Regions from separate parts of the Homo sapiens genome. Here region 1 is linked to region 2. Evidence: promoter capture Hi-C in 16 types of primary human blood cells and fetal thymus (Javierre and others, 2016). All regions are on one chromosome and are shown on one strand. The core of a region is centred on a gene start or on the middle of the fragment in contact, and the rest is flanking DNA. Distances in the headings are between cores, read along the strand shown.

Region 1 (5,562 bases), core at 3,063-5,562, 4.2 Mb before region 2:
AATCTTATGGGACCACCATCGTAAATGCAGTCCACTATTGACCAAAGAACATCATTATGCTGCACATGACTGTATTTAATATCTTCCTCAAGAAACTAATGAAAGAGATACTTTTAAGTAAAATATTAATCTTTTCAAAAAATTAGATAAAATAATTGATAGACTACAGGTAAACATGCTTTGTAAAGTGTAAAGAATTTTAATCAACACTTTATTAGGTATTTTTAATTTTCAGTTGTCTATTTGGCTCAAAATATACTTACGTTTCTAGAGTTTGAACAAAGTCTTTTTTATTTGAGACAGGGTCTCACTCTGTCACCCAGGCTAGAGTGCAGTGGCACGGCATCTCTGCTCACTGAAGCCTCTGCCTCCTGGGTTCAAGTGATTCTCCTGCCTCGGCCTCCCAAGTAGCTGGGACTACAGGCACGTGCCACCATGCCCAGCTAATTTTTGTATTTTTGGTAGAGACAGGGTTTCATCATGTTGACCAGGCTGGTCTCAAACTCCTGACCTCAAGTGATCCACCCACCTTGGCCTCCCAAAGTGCTGGGATTACAGGTGTGAGCCTCCACACCCGGCCTATATAAAGTATTTTAAAAGCTGTATTTTCAACTTAAAAAAAAGATACACATACCAAAAGGCTTAACACATAAAATCTGCCTTCATCACTCTAACCCAGCTTCAATTCTACCAAAATCTAGGCTAACAGAATTAAGCTTCAAGGAACAAATCATTTATCTTTATTTTTACTTACAAAATCTCAGTTCAAAGGATTCCAAATGAAATGGGAAGACCACAGCTAGCAGACAGAAGAGGTAGGGCCAAGATTAGTAGGAGAGGGGAAAGAAAATCTCCCAGAAACGCTAATCTTAATCCAGTCTCACTTTCTCCCAACCAAGAGAAGTGTGCACTGCTGCTACTTCTGCCCTGGCAGGCTCCTCCTCCTCTTACTCTTGAAATCCTCTGCTTTTTTCCTCCTGGAAAGTTACTCTCACAGGGCTGTTTTTCTTCCTAACATCTCTCAATTGTCAAAGGATTTCTTATCTTGAAATTAAAAGAATAAAAATATACTAACTTTCCATAATCACATAAGAGTTCCCAGGAAGTTCAAAAAGGATAGTAACTACTGCCAGGTGCGGTGGCTCACGCCTGTAATCCCAGCACTTTGGGAGGCCAAGGCGGGTGAATCACCTGAGGTCAGGAGTTCGAGACCAGCCTGGCCAACATGATGAAACCCCATCTCTACTAAAAATACAAACATTAGCCAGGTGTGGTGGCCGGCGCCCGTAATCCCAGCTACTTGAGAGGCTGAGACAGGAGAATCACTTGAACCTGAGAGGCAGAGGTTGCAGTGAGCCAAGATTGCACCACTGCACCCGCGCCTGGGAAACAGACCGAGACTCCGTCCCCCAACCAAAAAGAAAGAAAAAGAAAGGATAGTAACTCCATGGTTCAACTTGGCAGATCTGCAAAAAAAATTATAATGCAGCAACTAAGGCCTTAGAGACAAGAAAACACCTTTTTCATGGGAACTTCCTCTCCCTGAAGAAAGACAGAATTTAATTTAGAGTCTTACTACCCTCTGGGTCTCCTGTGATCTTCATGTTTGTTTCTTAAGGGGAAGAGGAGAAATCTTTTAGCCAACCAGCAGGGTGAGCTAGTGCTAGCATCAGTTCCATGATTCTCAAATCTCCCAAAACTCAATGGTGTAAACGGCTTGCACTATTAACAGCAGCTATTTATTTCCCTCTAATAAACCTGAATCAAAAACACCACTTCTAGAACTGCTTCAGTCAATGCTATACCTGACAACTTTACTCAATATTTACAGATTCTCCATATACGAAATAGACATTCTCTCTACCAGAAAGATTAATAAGTGTAAATAAAAGCTCATTTGAATATGTATCCATAGTATTACAGTATCCACTCTTCATTCTCGTTTTATTTTACAAGGTTACTAATTTAAAACATTTAGAAAACAGTTTAAAAAATGGTTAAAACAAGTGCTCTATAAAATCAGGGTTAGATAACTCAACATGCCAATTTCTCCATTTGCTGCAAGCTACAATTGTCTTAAGACCTGACTGAAAAGCCTTCCCAAGAATAAGATTCACTTTTCCTTCCAGAATCACATCCTGAGAAAATGGTCTAAATAAGTAACACTAAAAAACAATATTTAGGATGACAGAAAAAAAATGGACCTGACCTTTCTCTAGATTGCAGATATCCCACCACTTCTATTCTCTTTGAAACTTTCTTTTCTCCTCCTGCTACCCATTAACAGTCTCAATTCAACCAAAACACTCTTATAACTTGAATGACAAACTAAAACTGGAAAATGTTTAAGGTTGGCAGGTGACAGACCACTTTATAACTACAAATAACCTGAAAGTGACTCTAATTTTCACAAAATGAAAGTGTAAGTAAATCCACTCACATAATGTTGAAAATTATAAAACAGCTTATCAACTAACAAAAATCAGTAATTTAAAAGCACCTTATATGACCCATAAAAACTTTTAAAACCTTAAAACAATTTAACTTTTTGCTAAATCTGACATTCAAAGAAGTTAAAAATCACTATAGGGTTCCACCATAAATGACTGTCACTACTTGTTCAATTTCCTAACAGACCTTAGAGGTACCACTCAGTAGAAGTAGTAGTCTTAAAAAGTTGTTTTAAAGAAAGGGAACATTCTGAGTGGCACATTCGTTTATCCAACCAAAACACTATTACAAAATGAAAGACACCATTATTTTCAGCATTGATCTCATTTCTTTTCCTACATAATAACTGGCAATAACAGCAGTTATTTCAAACTTTCAAAGAAATTTATCAAGTCCCTGGTTGTTGTTTTTTAATTTTTCAATTTCTGGGTCAAGACTGCATTTGGAAAACCTTAAAATTCAAAAGCAACATTGCTCTGAAACTATCTGATATTTCTGTATTTTGTACCTGATTTTGTTTCACTGAAAGTCACTTTAAAAACCAAGTTAACCACAGAATATGAAAGTTTTTTTGTTTTTTTGTTTTGAGATGTAGTCTTGCTGTGTCACCAGACTGGAGTGCAGTGCCACGATCTCAGCTCTCTGCAACCTCTGCCTTCCGGGTTCAAGTGATTCTCCTGCCTCAGCCTCCCGAGTAGGTGGGACTATAGGCACCACCACGCCCAGGAAATTTTTACATTTTTAGTAGAGACGGGGTTTCACCATGTTAGCCAGGATGGTCTCGATCTCTTGACCTCGTGATCTGCTCGCCTCAGCCTCCCAAAGTGCTGGGATTACAGGCGTGAGCCACCGTGCCAGGCCAATATGAAAGTTTTTAACTTATTGTCACAGAAGTTCTCATGAACCTAACAATATTTAATTAACAAGTATTCTCAATAACATTCCCTTGTTTTTTTAACCATTAGTTGTAGATATTCACCTTCTCATCCCAGCAATATGACAAATACAAACAGCAATGGGTAGAGGCTGAAAGGCAATTTTCCATTATGCCACTAACTTAATCATCTCTGGTCCTCAATATATTGTAAAAGAGGAGGGTAAGAGCAGTTGTTCTTTGATATTGCTTCCACTGTAAAACTTTATGATCCAGGAATACATTTGCTAATGTTAATGCATCTCCTATTCATTAATACAAGACTGTTCTGTATTAGAAGCTAAAAAAAGAGAAAATATATATCTGAAAAGAACAAGGAAATGAAAGTTAACTAATGTTGAAAAATTCAAATTTCAGTTTGAACACAGAGATCTACACAGTGATCTAATGTGTTTAAATATCCCTCCAACCAAGGAATTCTGTTAATTGCCAACACAAAACATTAGGTGTTTCAAAATTTTGTACTTCATGAGTTAATACCAACACAAAGTATGATATAATTGCAGTATAACTTTAATTTGTTAGAAATTGTAAGACTTTTAAAAGCAATACATACCACTGCATTAATACTAATCAAGCTTTATGCTTCACCAATTAAAATGTCTAAGCTAGATTATAGCCTTATTATAAAAACGAGGTTTTTCTTAGCAAGCCTACCAAAATGCAATATTACTGCCATCAAGTTCCCTAGATACTTACACATGCAACTGAAGGCAAACAGCCAGGTTTCCTTTCTTTGAGAAACTTTAGTTGTCTATTTTTTGAAATGTTTTCCTTCTCATGGGACCAAAAAATGTTTACAACTAAAGCAAACTACTGCAGGGAGGGAATACACAATTAAAACAAATCTACCATCCAGATGCAACAAGCGTGGAATTAGGACTGGACAGGATAGTCGGCGGTGTTGTGATACTTCTGTTGAAATTATTAACAAGACAAGACCATCATTCGCCCCCAATTATGTTTATCCCCTCGTTGAGTTTGATGATCACACAAAATCTGAAGTCTAAATATAAACGTTTTTATATTCAAAGTCAATATTCAAGAAAACTTTTCCACTAATGTTGCTAAACCATAGATGGATCCCAACAAGAGTTGTCTGTAGAAGTCTCGTAACAAGTAACCTTTAGCTCCACCACCTAAGTTTCCAATCACTGAGAAGAGTCTGGGACAACTCATCTTCAGGTTCACGGGAGAAGTGGAGCACACCTGCTTTCCTCTGGCAGAGTAACTTCCCAGGGACACAAAGGCCAGAGAATCAGACCTGGAGAGGCAAAAAGCTTTAGCTGGACACCCACCAAGCCCCTGGCAACCCAAACACTTCGAGCGATTTACCTCTTGCTGTTACTTCCCAGGCACCTAGCCGCATAAGATCTTGCAGGACGGGGGGAGGGGAGGGCTATGCGGTCCTGTCCCAAGTAAGGGGAGGGGTGTAGACAGTTAATGCCAGAGCCAGCGTTTCTGGCCACAACCGAGCAGCCTCAACGAGAGGGGTTGGTGACTGCTCTCGGCCCGCCCCGTTACTCAGTGCATTGCAATGGCGACCGCCAGGCTCCCCAAGCCGCCTGATCTCGGCCCCTTCCCCCTACTGCTCACTGGCTGCTCGGCTTCATGTGACTAAACAAAACCCCCAAGTCTAGTGCCCAGCTCAGCCCCTTTGTGTCCGCTACCGGATCCTCCGACGCCGCAGCGGAAAGCCCCCCCCCCATCCCCCCGCCGAGTCCCGCCCCGCGGCGGCGGCCGCCGCTCACCTCAGGCTCCGTGGCCCCCAGCGACCGCCGCGGCCGCCGCCTCCCCGAACCCGGGGCCCGGGCTCCTTGTGTAGCACCAACTCCGCCTCCTCGGCCGCCGCCGCCATCTTAGCCTGTGCGGCAAAATGCGTCCTTTTGGATGGCTGGGACCCAGCCTAGGGCGTAGCTCCCCGGGCCCGAGAGCCGGAGGCCGGGTCCCCCAAGTTCTTCCGCCACCCTCAGTCCCGCCGCTGCCACAGCCCAGAGGCCCGAAACCCACTCGGGTCCCAGCGAATCTGACCAAATAACCCCTGAAACTCACAGTTTGGTGCCGTGTGCGTCAAACCGGGGCGACGTTGGGAGCACGCGGCGTCCCCGCGTCACACGCCGCTCTGTACGCTACTCGGCTCCAGCGGCCCCCCTCCGCTCCCCGCTTTTCGCCTCCAG
Region 2 (5,478 bases), core at 1,348-3,847:
TGAATTTTCAGTAGCCTGTGAATACGAGGAAACTTATTACATTAAGGTAGACTTTAGAGATTTGACATGTAGCTGATATTTTCACAGTGCAAGAAATATCAAGCTGACATTATGCAGTCTCTGAGATGATTATTTCCAAATGTCAGAGTGCAGAAACTTATTCATGGGACTTCAGTGCCTTAGGATAGTGTCAATTTAAAAGACATTCACATTGACTTCTTTTTTATTTAAACATGCTAAATGAGGTATGAAAAGCAGATTAAGAAATCAACTGAGAAAGGAAGAGCAAAGAAGAAACCTATTGACAAGAAAATTTTAAATCATAGATTGATGTACTCTTTAATCAATTTTCATGGACCTATTGCTGACAGCAGGCTTTAGCAACTGCCTCCTAATCCTTCCTACAGCTGTAATTTTGCTCTTCATGTTATTTCACTCATCTCACTTATAGTGAATTTGGAAAATTAAAAATAAGTAAAAACTATTTGAATATTTTATAGATTTTTTTTTGCTCTTGAGACGGAGTCTCGCTTGGTTGCCTAGGCTGGAGTGGTGCAAAGGTGCGATCTCGGCTCACTGCAACCTCCGCCTCCCGGGTTCAAGCGATTCTCCTGCCTCAGCCTCCTGAGTAGCTGGGATGATAGGTGCTTGCCACCACGCCCAGCTAAATTTTGTATTTTTAGTAGAGACAGCATTTCACCATGTTGGTCAGGCTGGTCCCGAACTCCTGACCTCAGGTGATCCACCCGCCTCGGCCTCCCAAAGTGCTGGGCTTACAGGCATGAGCCACTGCGCCCAGCCTATTTTATAGATTATTTTCAATAAATAAGTCAAAAACCAAATTGTTTGACTTTTCATAGTAACACTGGATTTCGAATTAAAATAACTTAGTAATATTTTAAATTAAAAACGTATTCTTTTGTTCAATCTCTTTAGCAGTTAATTATGAACCTACTGAACTGCTGGAACGTCTGTTATTTTGGAAATAAAGGAGTTTTTTTTTTCTTCAAGCCAATTGGCCATATCAGAGATAACTGCATTTAAATAAGCCTTCATCTTCCCAATTATGTGCTCCTAATTACTCGGGGTCACTGAAATCCCATGGCATCTTCTGAAAAGCATTTTCCCTGCAGTCCATCTTGTTAGGTTTCCTTTCTGTTCCGGGAAGCCAGTATCTTTTCCTTTATCAGATTCCTTTTTTACCAACAGCGGGAATGGTAATGGTGAATGGATGCAGGGTTTTAAAATCAGCCAACTTTGTTCTGACTTCCGTAGGTCAGTGACTGGAGTCACTGCCTAACAACCTAAATTCCCAGATTTATCTCATGAAATGTGATTTCTCATACAAACAAAAGTTGTGAGAACTCCATGAGCAAGACCAGCTGCTTGTGGGGACTGCCAAATTTTAAACTGTTATTTGAACAGCAAAAAGACCAGGCAAACATCCGAGAGACAGACCTAACTGCAGATAAGTCTTGTAATCTTGTTCACTATAGTCAAAACAGAATGGATTGCTTATTCTGTTACCCTATTGGTATTGCTCACATTTTAAAATTTAGGTGCTGGGCTCAAGAATGATAATTTTATTATTAAGCTTCAAGAGTCACATTGTATTGTATGCATTGAATATCACGAAATCGAAAACACTGAAAAGCTAGCGTTTACATTCTTGGATCATACCCCCAAAGGCCAAGGATTCCCACTGGCCGCTTGCAGCAGGGCTGTCTCCTGTGAAGGCAAGAGACAAACGAGGAGCGTTATGACACTTTGCTCCCAGGACTTTGGCGCACAGTTCCCATGAGTCCAGGTCCGTCCAGTCAACATCCTGAAGCCAGGACTGGCAGGTCCTGACCCTCCCTTTTTGCACCCGTAAGGGGAAGGGCCCGGGAATCTGGACCTTGTCTAGAGTCCCGGCGCCAGTACCAGTTCGGAGGGCATCCTGGAGGTTGTTACTAACCCGAGCCTCTTCCAGGCTTCCCAGGCACCAGGGTTGCTAACAGCTCCACGGGGGCGAATAATTTTGTTTATTTTGTTAACTGTGGTTATCTCCAACACTCAGTTCAGACCTGAGCCGGGCAAAGTCTCACCTTGTCTCCTGGTCACTTCCCTGCTTGTTTGTTTCTTCCTAACTCCCAAGTGTCTTTCGCCCAGTTCATCCCCACCTCAGCAGCCCAAGGCTCGGCGGGGACGGTCGGGGTTCGAAGCCTGCAGCTAAACTTAGAGGGTTCAGGCTTTGCTGGGAGGCCTCCCTGTGCTCAGAAGAGCCGGGGGTAAGCTGGGCGGTCGCCTTGGGTGCAGACAGAGGCGCAGGGCCTCGGCCTCCAAGAAAATTCCCAAACCGAGAGGCTGAGCTTCGCGTCTGTAGTTACTGAGCAGGAGCTTCTGGGCGGAACTTCTAAGGGCCCCGCCCGCCCCGTCTGCCCTGACCCTCGCCCGGACTCGCCTCGCCCACGTCCCGTTTCGCTTCGCCCCAGCTCCGTCTCGCCCCGCCCCCGTCCCGCCCGGTTGCGGAGGCGCGGGGCGCCCCCGGGTGGCCGCGGGCAGTGCTGCTCCTGGCCGGTGGAGGCGGCGGCTGCGGCAGCGGAAGGGGAAGCGCTGAGGCGGTGGGGCCCACAGCCATGGCGGAGCCTGTGCAGGAGGAGCTCTCGGTCCTGGCCGCGATTTTCTGCAGGCCCCACGAGTGGGAGGTGCTGAGCCGCTCAGGTGACTACCCGCGCGCGGGAGGGACAGGGCGCCCTCAGGGGCCACCCGCGTTCGCTTTGCGTCTCCTCCCCACCACGGAGCCTGGGCACCCCGCCTGGGCCCACGTATGGGGACCGGGTTAGTTGAATGATGGAATGACACGCCCGGAGGCCGGAGTGGTGTCGCAGCGGGCGGGAGTGTGAGGCGACCCCAGAAACACTAAGAGAGCGGCGCGGCCCACTGGGGCCTCTGCCGCCGGTCCCGCTCCCGGAGCCGGGGGCCCCTGCGTGCGCACCCCCAGGCCCTCCCCCAGCCTCCCACCCCTCAGATCTCACCCTATAAAGAAGCCTGTGCTGACGCCCCCTCGTTGTTCTGTGTCCTTCCTAAGCACTATGCCCTAGGCCCCCCCGAGAGCACTCCCCGGTTCTAACTCTACACGGGTATTTGTAGGTCTTAAGTTGCAGGAGGGCAGGGTCTGTTTGGTAATGACTCCAGGCACCTGGTAGGTAGTAGGTAAATGTTTGTTGACTGAACTTTTTCATTTATCCAGTGCTCAACCTCAACTTTATCTGCATTCTATTTCCAAGTTGATTGCTTTTCTGATACTTTTTTTTTTTTAGGTGGAGTCTCTCTTGTTGCCCTGGCTGGAGTGCAGTGGATCCATCTGGACTCACTGCAGCCTCCGCCTCCCGAGTAGCTGGGATCACAGGCGCGTGCCACCATGCCTGGCTGAATTTTATTTATTTTATTTTATTTATTTTTTATTTTTTAAGACGGAGTCTTGCTTTGTCGCCTAGGCTGGAGTGCAGTGGCGCGATCTCGGGTCACTGCAACCTCCGCCTCCCGGGTTCACGCCATTCTCCTGCCTCAGCCTCCCGAGTAGCTGGGACTACAGGCGCCCACCACCACGCCCGGCTAATTTTTTGTATTTTTTTTTTTAGTAGAGACAGGGTTTCACCGTGTTAGCCAGGATGGTCTCGATCTCCGGACCTCGTGGTCCGCCCGCCTCGGCCTCCGAAAGTGCTGGGATTACAGGCGTGAGCCACTGCGCCCGGCCTTTTTTTTTTTTTTTTTTTTTTTTTGAGACAGAGTCTTGTTCTGTCCCCCAGGCTGGAGTGCAGTGGCGCGATCTCGGCTCACTGCAAGCTCCACCTCCTGGGTTCACACCATTCTCCTGCCTCAGCCTCCCGAGTAGCTGGCACTACAGGCGCCTGCCACCATGACTGGCTAATTTTTTGTATTTTTAGTAGAGACGGGGTTTCACCATGTTGGCCAGGCTGGTCTCAATCTCCTGACCTCGTGATCCGCGCGTCTCGGCCTCCCAAGGTGCTGGGATTACAGGCGTGAGCCACAGGTGCCTGGCCTTCTGATACTTTTTTTTAAACAAGCTCTTGAGGGCTTTATTAGTCATTTAGCCCACATTTATTGAATCCCTGCTGCCTACAGACTTTGTCAGGGTTTCAGAGACACCGCTACCCATGGCCTCTAGGAGCTTACAGTGTAGAGAGGTTCTTTTGACTATTTTTTGATGATAGGTGAAACTTACTGTCCCTGTATGTGGCTTCTATTGAATAAAAAAAAAAGAAAAAACACTGCCATGTATGAGAAAGTGACTCAGTTTTCACTTAGCTTTCAGATACATTATGTACATGTTTGGGGCATGAGATTTATCGTTCTAATGTTATATTGTAGCTACCATTAAAATTGGCTTTCTGACCATAAATTGGTTAACCTTTAAGAAGGTAGTCTAGGCCTGGCGCGTGGCTCATGCCTGTAATCCCAGCACTTTGGGAGGCCGAGGCGGGCAGATCACCTGAGGTCAGGAGTTCAAGACCAGCCTGGCCAACATGGCGAAACCCCATCTCTACTAAAAATACAAAAATTAGCTGGGCATGGTGGCACACGCCTGTGATCCTTGCTACTCGGGAGGCTGAGGCAGGAGAATCACTTGAACCCGGGAGGCGGAGGTTGCAGTGAGCCAAGATCTCACCATTCATTGCACTGCAGCCTGGGTAACAAGAGTGAAACTCTGTCTCAGAAAAAAAAAAAAAAAGTAGTCTAAAAATGGGCTGGATGTTGTGAGAAAACCATTTAAGATTAAGATCCTTCATGATATCCATTGGGTGTGTTATTCACTGAAGGACAGGGAGTTGACTTCCATTTATTCCTTCTTGCATTCATCCACTCACATCCACTCATTGGGCACTGTTATGTTCCAGGCACTATGCACCTATTAGTGTAATGGAGTTGCTTTCTTTTTAGTGCCCAGCCTGACTTGTATCTTTTGAAACAATTGTTTAAAATCCATATGAAGGGGTTTACTCACTTTTAGTGTTTTCTTGTCATCCCTCTTCTGATTGGATAATTCTTCACCATCTCCCTCTCTGTCTCCACTGTTCTCTTTATTGATAATTACTTCTGCCTGAGGCAGCTATTTGAAGAGATCATCAGTTTTCCTAAATTCCTTTATTATGGCTCAGTTGGGAATATCCTGGAAAAATGAACCTGCAATTTCCCATCACACCTTAAAGAACTGGTAATGGTCTGGGTCATTAGTACACAGCTGAGCATAAAACACTGCTGAAGGGTCAGAGAAAACCCAAAAATGTAAGCATAGAAAGAAAACAGTTTCTTAATCTTGAGAACACTGTGAACCCTTTATCTGCTGTTAAATTGAGCATGACTTTCAAGCCATGCCTCCTAATTAGTTTAATTCCATGTTCTGGCATCAATAAGTAATTGAATTATAAAAGAATTCAGTGTAACAACTTAGGACATTTTGTTGCTGAGAGGTAG

The links. Contacts are between HindIII fragments. The CHiCAGO score rates a contact against its expected background, and 5 or more counts as called.
Region 1: a fragment that was not itself captured here is called in contact with the fragment with the promoter of RWDD3 in region 2 in 3 of 17 cell types (naive CD8 T cells, non-activated CD4 T cells and naive CD4 T cells); the score reaches 7.3 in naive CD8 T cells.

What each region holds. Positions count from the first base shown.
Region 1 is chr1:91,016,553-91,022,114 of GRCh38, forward strand. ZNF644 (zinc finger protein 644) reads right to left here and starts at 5,483. Exons shown (of 6, transcript NM_201269.3): 1 at 5,438-5,483. RefSeq lists enhancers at 4,740-5,289, 5,290-5,562 and silencers at 5,073-5,142, 5,473-5,562. The HindIII fragment of the contact is 702 bases long and covers 3,962-4,663 here.
Region 2 is chr1:95,231,613-95,237,090 of GRCh38, forward strand. It overlaps RWDD3 (RWD domain containing 3), which reads left to right and starts at 2,598. Exons shown (of 4, transcript NM_015485.5): 1 at 2,598-2,703. The coding sequence starts at 2,619. The region is part of intron 7 of TLCD4-RWDD3 (TLCD4-RWDD3 readthrough); the gene reads left to right. It overlaps RWDD3-DT (RWDD3 divergent transcript), which reads right to left and starts at 2,370. Exons shown (of 4, transcript NR_125949.1): 1 at 2,088-2,370. RefSeq lists silencers at 2,339-2,668, 2,879-3,058. The HindIII fragment of the contact is 4,366 bases long and covers 1,593-5,478 here.